2 separate regions of the Homo sapiens genome follow, and region 2 is linked to region 1. The links are contacts of gene promoters, found by promoter capture Hi-C in human tissues and cell types (Jung and others, 2019). All regions are on one chromosome and are shown on one strand. Each heading gives the region's core, a stretch centred on a gene start or on the middle of the fragment in contact. The rest is flanking DNA. Distances are from core to core; before and after follow the strand shown.

What was found. Contacts are between HindIII fragments. The study calls those that stand out against the background at their distance.
Region 2: a fragment that was not itself captured here is called in contact with the fragment with the promoter of ARL8A in region 1 in 2 of the 25 tissues and cell types used here (dorsolateral prefrontal cortex and spleen).

The regions. Positions count from the first base shown.
Region 1 is chr1:202,142,461-202,148,338 of GRCh38, reverse strand. It overlaps ARL8A (ARF like GTPase 8A), which reads left to right and starts at 3,602. Exons shown (of 7, transcript NM_138795.4): 1 at 3,602-3,889. The coding sequence starts at 3,767. It overlaps PTPN7 (protein tyrosine phosphatase non-receptor type 7), which reads left to right. Exons shown (of 10, transcript NM_002832.4): 10 at 1-1,323. RefSeq lists silencers at 3,402-4,111, 4,612-4,661. The HindIII fragment of the contact is 36,256 bases long and covers 1-5,878 here.
Region 2 is chr1:201,868,769-201,874,646 of GRCh38, reverse strand. IPO9 (importin 9) reads right to left here. Exons shown (of 24, transcript NM_018085.5): 16 at 5,851-5,878; 17 at 4,929-5,057; 18 at 3,789-4,064; 19 at 3,320-3,486; 20 at 1,686-1,819; 21 at 275-397. Among named protein-coding and RNA genes, the nearest start is that of MIR6739, 8.3 kb to the right of the region's middle. RefSeq lists a silencer at 5,802-5,878. The HindIII fragment of the contact is 8,088 bases long and covers 1-5,878 here.

The sequences.
Region 1 (5,878 bases), core at 2,353-4,852:
AGACAGGAGCTGGCATTTATGACAGACAAAGAAAGAAGCCCAGGTGTCCTGGTGTTCTCTGAGACACTCTTTGTGAGCTTCAGTTTCCTGTTCTATAACATGAACATAAGTGCTTAGCTGCCATGAGGGAAAAGTAATGAGAGAAGTTTCTAGAAGCCACTCCAGCCACTCCTTCCTGGGGCTGACAAAAGGGTGATTCCAAGATCATCCTTCACCCGAGGTCCTGCCCAAGCACAGGCCAGATGCAAGAATGGGGAAAAGTCTGGTCCTGATCTCCAAGTCTCAACATCCTATCAGTGACTCTGCTCCCTGACCACACATCGGAAGGGCTGGATGACCCCAATCAAAAGAAAGAACAAGGACTCTGGTTACCCTTGCCTCCACCCATGTGTCATAAGAGTAGGCTACAGAGGTGACCAGGCCTGGCAGTTGAAATCTCTGGAAGAGGGAACATGTGGGGACTACTCAGAGGCAAAGAGGAGCTGCTCCTGCCTCCATGGTTGCTGGCCACTCCCACCAACTACTCTTAGGGAGGCTAAGCAGTCTCTGTTTTGCTTCCATGGCTCAAATAATACCCTGGGTATGCAGGACCCACTATACCTTGCATTTGCTGAGTACACCTAGAGAGCTTGGCTGTTTCCAAAAACAATCAGGGTCATAACCATCCATGCAGACATGGAGGCTCGGCTGAACCAGGACTCCTCACTGTCTACCTGAGAGAATGAGCACCCCTCATCCATCTCAGCATCAACACAATTTCCAGGGGACCTCAGGTCTACCTCAGGACTGAACGCCACACCTCAGGATTCCTCCTCCTTGAATCTGAGACTGGCTGCCCATTCTGAGATGGGGATGAAGGTAAGATGCCGCATCACCAGGCACGCCGCCCCTGACAGCTGCCTTGATACCAGCTCTCTGTGGAAACCCCCGAGGAGTTGGATCTGGAGAACAGCTGGGCCTCCTCACTCAGGACTTCTCTCCTGAAGAACACGCAGTGCTAAAACTGAGGATGATTTCCCTAATGCTTCTGCTTGGCCTTATGGAGGAGCTGCTCCTTCCTTACAGCCTTGGGGATGGACTTGCCCACACCTCCACCTCCCCTGAGCCCTGTGAGAGGCACGACTGTCTATGCCAATGAGGCTCGGTGGGGGGCTCTCAAGTGCCTGATCCTGCCCTGGGCTCAGAGCCAGCCCAGAGGGAAGCAACTGCACAGCCCCACAGGCCCTCCCTGGCACTGTCCCCCCAACCCCATCTCAGAGCTCAGAGGGTACAAGCTCCAGAACAGTAACCAAGTGGGAAAATAAAGACTTCTTGGATGACTGACTCATTCCTTCTTTCCATCTTCTTCTTGGCCCTCTGGGGCCTCTTTGTAGCAAGAGAGAAAGACTGCAGACCAGGGACAGGCAGGCTGCAAATCTTTGCCCTTGGGATATGCACTTTTCTAGCACTTCCAAGGACATAAAGTAAGGTGAAACCAAAGTCAATTTAGGAAGTGAGACAGGGTGGACCCTCATAGCCTACCCAGGCAGCTGTAACAATTCACACTACCGTAAACCATGTGGCTTCTAAACAACAGAAATGTATTGCTGGCCTGGCGTGGTGGCTCATGCCTGTAATCCCAGCACTTTGGGAGGCCGAGGCAGGCGGATCACGAGGTCAGGAGATCCAGCTAACACAGTGAAACGCTGTCTCTACTAAAAATACAAAAAATTAGCCGGACGTGGTAGCACACACCTGTAGTCAGCTATTCGGGAGGCTGAGGCAGAAGAATTGTTTGAACCCTGGAGGTGGAGGGTGCAGTGAGCTATCATGCCACTGCACTCCAGCCTGGATGACAGAGCAAGACTCCATCTCAAAAAAAAAAGAAAAAAGAAAAAAAGAAATGTGTTGCTCACAGTTCTGGAAGCTGGGAAGTCTAGGATCAAGACCCTTGCAGACTCAGTGTCTGGCTATTAGGCAGAGCCTTCTTTCTGTCCTTGCATGGTGAAAAGGTTGTGGGCTGGTATTCTTCCCCCTAATCCCACCGGCCCCCTTTATAAGGCTCTACCCTCATGACTTAATCACCTCCTAATACCATCACTTTAGGGATTAGGACTTCAACCTATGAATTTGGGGGGACACAAACATTCAGTCCATAGCCTTTATCTTAGGAGCTAGAGGAGGACTTATAAAGGGCAGAGGTTAGAAAGATGGTGCTTAATAAACCAGAATATTGGCCAGGCTCATGCCTGTAATCCCAGCACTTTGGGAGGCTGAGGCAGGCAGATGGCTTGAGCTCAGGGCTTCGAGACCAGCCTGGACAACATGGCAAAACCCCGTCTCTACCAAATATACAAAAATTAGGCTGGCATGGTGGCGCATGCCTGTAGTCCCAGCTACTCGGGAGGCTGAGGTAGAAGAATCACCTGAGCCCGAGGAGGTGGAGGCTGCAGTGAGTCGAGATCCCACCGCTGCACTCCAGCCTGGGCCACACAGTGAGACCCCATCAAAAAAAAAAAAAAAAACAATATTATGCTAGCCGAAACCTTGTGATTCTTCTACTTTGGTAACTGTTTGACTATTTGGGGTCATCTAACTCCAGTTGATTGGACAGATATGGTTGATATTGATAGTTTACCCACTTTTGACTAAAACAATAGACTACATATGACTACATTTGAAAACCAAACCCCAACGGGCAGCCAGCATAGGCTGGGGACTGCCCGAAGCCTGAGCCTACCCGGGACTGCCAGCTGAGGTTGTCAGCCTGCCTGAGCAGGTCCTATGGGTGGGTCTTGCAAGGAGAGGGGCAGGAGTAAGGCATCTTTGCAGGCACTCCAGACCCACTTCAAGAGGAGAACTATCACTTCTCCTCCTGAAGAATACTCTGCTTTTCACCAAAACAGGGCAACATTTTCCTTTGTCACAGACGTTCCTCACTGAAAACCCCCTGCCAGGACTGTATCTGTTTGGGTATCTTGGGGATGCTGGTAAAAATCCGGAGCAAGTTCAAGCGTCCGTTTCACTTGGGGCCAGAGGCTTCCTAACAAGTGGTCGGGGTAAATTGTGGTGAACAAAACAAGATGGAGTATTAAAAGACCCGAATACGGTTGTCCCTCTGCACTGGGTGCATTTTGAGAGGATGGGACTGTACCCAGGAATGCTCAGAGGCAAGGGTTCAGGGACAAAAAAGCCTCCATCTGCCTCCCTGTCGTAGAGATCTCATCTCCGTGTCCTGGGAAGTGGGTGACCCACTCTCCTTCAACCTGAAAAGGCTCCTGCTTAACCGGAACCTCACCCACCTCGAGCCCACCACCCTTTAAGAAAGGGGGTGCCAGTCAGGGCGCGGCAGTCGGGGACAGGGTCTAAAATAAATTAGACCCCATTTCCCAAGCGCCTCTCGACGCCAGCTGCCGGTCAACCCCCGCCGCTGAAGCCTGCGGATTCCCTGCTCACCCCACCTGCGGATTCCCTGCTCACCCCACCTGCGGGTGCGGCCCCTGGCCCCCCGGCTCCAGCGAGGGAGGAGCGCGCGCTCGGGTGCGAGCAGGACACGGCCCGGCCGCGAGGGAGGGCGGCGGCGGCGGCGGAGGAGGAGGGCGCGGAAGCCACACCCATCGGCGAGCCGATTCCGGGGCAGCGAGTCGTCGGCAGCCGCGCTCGAGCCTCCGCCCGCACCGAGCCGCGGGACCCGGGCCGTACCGGGGAGGGGCCGCTCCGGGCCGCAGCGCGAGGGCAGCGAGGGGCGGCGGGGACCTGGCACCGGGCGGGGCCGGCGGCAGCGACCATGATCGCTTTGTTCAACAAGCTGCTGGACTGGTTCAAGGCCCTATTCTGGAAGGAGGAGATGGAGCTCACGCTGGTCGGGCTTCAGTACTCGGGCAAGACCACCTTCGTCAACGTGATCGCGGTACGAGGGCGTCGGGCGCGGGGTCCCCGGGCGCGGGCCGCGGGTCGGGCCTGTCCCCGCCCGCGCCGCGCCCTGCTGAGCCGGGGTCGCCGCCTGGCATAGCCGGGCACGGCCGGGCGCCGGGCGGGGGAGGAGCCGGCCCCGAGCGCTTGGGGCCTAGTACGGCCCGTGCCGTGGGGGACCGGGGCGGCGCGCGACCCGCTCTCTCACCCGGGCCGGTACTGCACGGCTGGGGGCAGGGGAAGGGGGACGAACAGACAGGGCCGGTGCCACGGGGCAGGCGGCACCGAGGGGCTCTCGAAGCAGGAGGGACCCGCTGCCGGCTGAGACGGGCCCCCTCTGGCCCCCGCGCAAGGGGGCATGACGGGGCGAAAGTGCACGGGCCTTCCTGTCCCGCGGGTAGAGGGTCACGGGACGGGGCGGCCGAGAGGCTTGAGGAGGGGGTTTGGGCAAGCCCAGCCCCACCCAGAGGGCTTAACCCCTCCTTGCCGGAAGAGGAAGCCCCGGCCCTATTGAGGGGGAGGGGAGGTATCCCCCGGGGTAGAGGAGTCAGCTGAGGCCCTTGGCTCAAGCCCAGACTCCTCCCCAACTTCTCCCCGACCCGCAGTGTCTAGCCGGGGGTCCAGGGAGGATCGCATGGTAACGGGAGTTTGGAGACTCCGTCTGGCTCAGAAGTTTGCAGGAGCAGGTGCTCCCGACAAGAGAGGATGAGGTGTAGGGGCACGGCCCACTGGGGCCTTGGGAGAGTGGCTCTAAGGGCTTTGGGTCGTCAACACTGAAGTGGGTGATTGTAAGTCTTTCAGCGCCAGGGGAGTGGTGGGGAAGGAGTTAAAATCTCTCTCAAAAAAGGGGAAGATGAGCTCCATGGGTGTGAGCTGAGGCTGCCGTAATGGCTGCGGCCTGCCTGTCAGAGCCAGGCTAGACAGGGCTTGTGGGTCGAGGAAGCATGGGACAGGGGCTGGGGTTGTCCAGGGACCTGGCCCCAGTCCCAAAGCTGAGGTTTCCCACAACTGTGAGTTGGCCAGATAGTAACCAAAGATACTGATGAGATAGGTCAGCAGAGGAATGTATCCAGCCGGCCTAGGTACCTCTACCTGTCCGTGTTGTTGCCCCACCTTGCAGAAGATGGGCCTCCTCGACAGTTCTCAGCGTCCTAGAAGGCAGGGGACGTCACTTCATTGGACCTGAGGCATGAAGGCAGATGGAAAGCTCGAGGGGCGGGCATCCTGTGGTTACACAATTGAACACTGGCTTCCTTTCCCAAACATGCTCTGCAAATGACCTCTGCCCTTTCTCGACCCAGTGTCTCCTGTCTCCTGACCTGACAGGGCAGGATCTTCAGGCCAATGCTGCGGTTTTGGCACAGTAATTTTCGGAGCTAACACCCCTGGGCTCTGTCTGCCTAGGCTCTGCCCTTGGGGTCAGAGACCCTCTGGTTAAACTTGGCATTGACTTAGGCTCTTGGATTCCCAGAGCAGGCACATAACACCTGGACTCTGACCTGACTCTGCAGGCCTAGGTGGCTTGGGTTCTAGGCGTTTAGGTCTGAGAAATGCAGCTGGGCCTAGGTATCTCCTCGTTCCCCAGGGTGTTACTATAGCTGTGCTCTGGGACAGGGATCCACAGGTACCCGGGTGGGTTCGGTTTCTGGGTCTGCAGTTGAGCCTTTGACAGGAGGGCCCCCTCTAGACCAGCATCATATCCAGAGAGTTGGAGACTATAGCAGGCCAGAAACAGAACCCAAGAGTCCCAAATTCCCCTGCCAGGGTCAAGAGTTCCTGTGATATACAGGAAAAGCACCCCATCTCCAGCCCACAAGGTCCCCTTTTTAATCTTAAATTTGCCACTTCCGCTGGCACATTCTAAAAGAGCAGGCAAGCTAAATTCCCTTCTTTAGAGAGGCTTCCCAAGGAAAACCACCCCATGTGGGCTGCAGTTGGAATTCCAGTGTCCCGGTCACTCCAGTGTTTTCAGATCCTCTGGGGCTAC
Region 2 (5,878 bases), core at 2,389-4,888, 270 kb after region 1:
AGTGTTGACAGGCTCTTAAGAAGAATCAAACCAAAGAAGGGCTATGTTAGCTTGCCTCCTGGCTGCCTCCCACCCCAGCCTCTGTGAGATTTCATATGGCAGACTGGAGAAGCAGCTCTACATGCCTAGTGCCTAGCATGGTGCCAGCCACAGAGCAGCCATTCCATCAACTTTTTTTTTCAATTAGTGACTCAACAAACCAAGTTGATAATTTGACAATTTGTAACTTGATCTGCCAGGCTAAAAGTCTCCTGGGAGTAAGGGCCTGGTGCACCTTGACTCCACTCTGCAGGAGTGGCCTGGCGAGCGGCATTAGCCTCCATGACGTTGGAGAGCTCGTTGATGATCAGCTTTAGGATCTTGACCAGCAAAGGAATGTTTGTCCAGCGTTCTGGGTCTGGGAAGGAAGAAAAAGGTTTCAAGTCAGAGTGTCACTGAGCTTACTTCTGGAAGTACCCCTGTCCTCTCCTCAGTGCCACTCACCAGAGTTCACCACCCCTCAGACTTTCACTGTACCTGACTATATCCAGTCTCCAAAGAGTGACTTAAAGTTAAATAACTTTATTGTTTGGTATTGTAACAGTTCAGAAGCTGGGAGAGATGAGAGTTCAGGGATTAAAGGAGATACAGTCTTGTTAGTAATAAAGCTCTGAAACCAAGGAACTGTATAGAGCCAGTACTCCAGTCCCAATGACTTAGAATTTGAGAGACAGCGGAGGTAATTATAAATCTACATTAAAGATAGCAGCTCTATACTCCCTACCTGCAAATCATTGGAGTTACAGGCCAAAGGCAACTCAGTAACAAAGACATGCTGACTATCTGTGCCCACGCTTCTGAATGAAGCTGGAAGCTGGGATGCTTGGTGCCTGAGACTATTTTTGTCTTTTTTTTTTCTTCAGACAGAGTTTTGCTCTTATTGCCCAGGCTGGAGTGCAATGGCGTGATCTTGGCTCACTGCAACCTCCACCTCCCGGGTTCAAGCGATTCTCCTGCCTCAGCCTCCCGAGTAGCTGGGATTACAGGCATGCGCCACCATGCCTGGCTAACTTTGTATTTTTGGTAGAGACGGGGTTTCTCTATGTTGGTCAGGCTGGTCTCGAACTCCCGGCCTCAGGCGATCCACCCACCTCGGCCTCCCAAAGTGCTGGGATTACAGGTGTGAGCCACCACGCCTGCATTTTTTTTTTTTTTTTTTTTTTGAGACGGAGTCTCATTTTGTTGTCCAGGCTGGAATGCAGTGGCACGATCTTTGCTCACCGCAACCTCTGCCTCCCAGGTTCAAGCGATTCTCCTGCCTCAGCCTCCCAAGTAGCTGGGATTACAGGCGCCCACCACCATGCCTGGCTAATTTTTGTATTTTTAGTAAAGACGGGATTTCACCATGTTGGTCAGGCTAGTCTCAAACTCCTGACTTCAAGTGATCCATCCGCTCTGGCCTCCCACCAAGTGCTGGGATTACAGGCGTGAGCCACCATGCCCGGCCTATTTTTGTCCATTTTCCACAACAGGAAGAAACCGTATGTTCTGATCCCTTTTACCTAAGTTTCCTGCTTCTTCTTTATCAAACCCATCACCAACAATTGTTTTAAAAATATACACCACAGTGCATTCCTTCCCTTCACCCAGGTATCCTTAGCCCCTTCGTATAGGGAGAGGATTGGAAGAATCGCAGCAGCACCCACTTTTGGCTGACTTAGAGCGGGTGCGGATGCCCTCATCCATGCTGTAGATCTCCTCTCCCTTCACACGGATATCCTGTAGCCGTTTGTCATCTGCATTGATGCCATGCTGGAGCAGCTTACAGAGTGCCACAGAGCTGGCAAGGAAGATCCAAAAAAAGGTCAATCAGCCGCCCATCTCGAGTTCACTCCAAGGAGATAAGCAATTATGTCCTAAGACCCTCTATTTGATAGTGAAAATTCCGTTAACAACTAATTAGGAGAGCTAAGAGAGTTCAGCTGAAAATGAGATTTTAGAGTTCATGAGGTGGTTTAATGAGATCTGTGCTTTTTTGTTGTTGTTGTTGTTGTTGTTGTTTTTGAGATAGGGTCTCATTCTGTCACCCAGGCTGAGTGCAGTGGTGTGATCATGGTTCACTGCAGCCTTGACCTCCCTGGGTTCAGGTGATCCTCCCACCTCAGCCTCCCAAGTAGCTGGGACTATAGGCATGCGCCACCGTGCCTGGCTAATTTTTGTATTTTTTTGGTAGACACAGGTTTCACCATGTTGCCCGGGTGGGTCTCAAGCAATTCGCCCACCTCAGTCTTCCAAAGTGCCGGGATTACAGGTGACCTGTTCTTCTTGAACAAAGCTAAGGTTGCACCATATTGTAAGGTGCAACGAGGTGATAAGAATCAGTGGTATAAAAATCCAGGATAAAAAGTTAGGAAGCCAGGGTTAGAAGGTTGGGTTTTTTATTTTTATTTTTCTGAGACAATTTCGCTCGTCGCCCAGGCTGAAGTGCAATGGCGTGATCTGCCTCCTTGGTTCAAGCGATTCTCCTGCCTTAGCCTCCCGAGTAGCTGGGATTACAGGCACCCACAACCACATCCAGCTATTTTTTGTATTTATAGTAGAGACAGTGTTTCACCATGTTTGCCAGGCTGGTCTTGAACTCCTGACCTCCGGTGATCTGCTCGCCTCAGCCTCCTAAAGTGCTGGGATTATAGGTGTGAGCCACTGTGCCTGGCCAAGGCTTGGGCTTATAAAGGAAAATAAGCCACTAGCAGCACTTAGCTGTGTGAAGTCTGTGGTAGAGAAGGGATCTCTTGTAAACAGAGACCAGAAATATATAGTCTACCTGTGTTGACTGTCTTTTGGGGATTTCAAGATGGCAGCTATTCACATATGTGCGTTAGCAATAAAGAAAGACAGGGAAAAGGGAATACAGAGAGCCATTTGAAATGTCAAACAAAAATCAATGGAGCAAATCAGGAAAAAAAAGAAATATGTGTCAGGAGCAGTGGCTCACACCTGTAATCCCAGCACTGTGGGAGGCCGAAGTGGGTGGATCACTTGAGGTCAGGAGTTCAAGACCAGCCTGGCCAACATGGTGAAACCCTCTCTCTACTAAAAACACACACACAAAGAATTCACTGGGTATGGTGGTGCATGTGTGTAATATTCGGACGGCTGAGGCAGGAGCAGGAGAATTGCTTGAACCTAGGAGGTGGAGGTTGCAGTGAGCCAAGATTGTGCCACTGCACTCCAGCCTGGGCGACAGAGCGAGACTGTCTCAAAAAAAAAAAAAAAAAAAAAAAAAAAAAAGAAATATGAGTGGTGGCAGAATGCCCAGAAAAGAAAGATGAGGTTCTACCTGACTTTGCCTTCATACTGTCCATAGAACAGGTGCTGTCGGCTTGTCCACTCAGCCATCACAAACTCTAGAGCAGGTTTGCCAGTAGGTCCTGGGAGGCTACACAGGAACTCCAAGAGAGGTTCTAGCTGAGTGTGCACCAGATGAGCGAACACCATGATCAGGGACTAGGAGAAAATAAGGACATTTGCTTCAGGGAAATCAATTTCAGAGACATAGGAGATGAGAGGGAACTGGCCAGTCAGATAAGAAATACAGTCTACACTGAGGGTATTATCCACAGGACAAGAAAACATGGGAGATTTCCTTGTCCATGTTTCTTAGGCCAAACAGATCAGACAGGTCCCATTTTACTTAACTGTCCTACAAGGCTAGTAAGAGGGTAAAATAAAATAACTCAGGACCAAAATACGAATTTTCATTTCTATCAGCCAGGGAGTAGGAAGCCCACTCCCCACTGCTCTCTTACCTGCATGACACTGAGCGTCTCTGCCTGCTGCATCTTACTGAGGATGGCACGAAGAATCTGGTCTAGATTCTCCCCGAGTTCCCGCCCTGCCTTGGAGATGAGGGTGGAAACAAGGCGGCCCACAAAGGCCGCAGTGAACTCTGAGGTGCGGGGGTCCAGGAGCTGGCTCACCACTTGCATCACATACCACAGTCCATTGTGGCCCTGCTCATCATGCCACTGGGCTACTTGTTCCAGGGTCACTGACACATAGGCCCGCAAGCACTCTCCGCCATTCTGGGGAGACAGGGGTGGCAAGCAAGATTAGTAATCGAGGGACAGATGCCAGAAGGCCCTCAGTCTGTATAAACAAATGTTCCCAGAGGCCTATGCCTCATAAAAGCGGTGAGTCTATAATGTTTGTGGTGGGCTCATACCACTGGAGTTAAGACATTTACTGTTACAGACATAGACGTGCATTACATAATTCCCCCTTTACCTAATCAGCTATCTCACAAATGTGTATATATATTTTTTTAATCACAAGGGACAATGGCCAAGCAAAATGAATTTTAATCATAAAGGTCTACCTCTGGTACTAAAAAAATATGCTTACAATCTTGGAATAACTGGGGATACTGTAGGTCTTTATATAGGTCTTACACAAACCACTAGTTGCCTAGGGATTTCCAAGCTGATCAATATTCACTGGCAAGTTCCTATAACCTTTCTAATCAATCACAGTAGCAGACACCTGAAAAGGTAACCAATTCACCCAAGAAACAAAAAGAGAAAAAATATTCAGGCATGTCTCCCCTCTCTAGAGGCCCATCACTCTGCTGACTTTATTACTAGAAGAAATATGCAGAAAGACTTTCTTATGGCCCCAAGTCTAGATGTCTGTAACCTCTTTCACAGTAGCAATACCCAATACAGATGGGCAGGGTGCTTGGTATCCATATTTTTAAAAACTGTAACATGCTCCAAAGCACCAGAAATGCTTGGCTTTTGCAGACTGAACCCTTCCTGAATCTGCTAAGTAAATATGGAGTTGAGAATTCCGTATTTCAAAAGCATAAAACCATGTCAGATTTCTCAGCATAGTATAAGCCCATGGCTGGGGAGCTATCTTCCCTCTTCTACTCTCCATGTCTCAGATACCTGCATGGTGGCATTGTCATCTGTGTGAAGGGTACACTGTGCCACAGCAGGGAAAGCTTGGCAGATGAGAAGCTGGGAAAGGGGAGGCTTTGTATTTCGTACTACTGTTGTCAGGATATCAATGGCTGTCTGAAAGAGAGAAGAAAAAGAAAAGTCAGAATTGCCTCTGGGGTGGGGGTTGCCCAACAACCAAGATCCTTACTGGATGGGTATTACATAGCAACCCAGAGAAAGCTTATTAATGAAAGGCAAGTTTCCAAAATAAAAGGAATAATTAAATGGGTAGTACTCTCAGCCTTCTCATAATAGCTTACTAATTGATTAGCCATAGGGGTGGGCAGTAGTACATGGTAGTGGATTGGATAACCAGGTGACATACTTAGTGGCACTGTGTAAAGGTGGCACTCTGTTCAATTCACTGAGGGTACCTCTGGAACAAGAAGAGCCATTTTCTTTCTTTCTTTCTTTTTGAGGCAGTCTCGCTCTGTCACCCAGGCTGGAGTGCAGTGGCACGATCTCCACTCACTGCAACCTCTGCCTCCTGGGTTCAAGTGATTCTCCTGCCTCAGCCTCTTGAGTAGCTGGTACTGCAGATGCCTGCCACCATGCCCGGCTAATTTTTGTATTTTTAGTAGAGATAGGGTTTCACCACATTGGCCAGGCTGGTCTCGAACTCCTGACCTTGTGATCCACCCACCTCGGCCTCCCAAAGTGCTGCAATTATAGGCATGAGCCACCGCGCCAAGCCAAGCCATTTTCTTAAAGCTTCAGAGAATCACCCACTGTCCTTGCAGGCAAAAGAGCTCAGCAAAATCACCCCATGAATCTCTAACGCTATTAGGTTCTTGTCAGCTAGATGCATCTGTGGGTGGCACTTGTAGATCTCTCTCACACACACACACACACACACACGGCCACTTACCGCACAAAGCCCTGCAGGAATCTTGTCT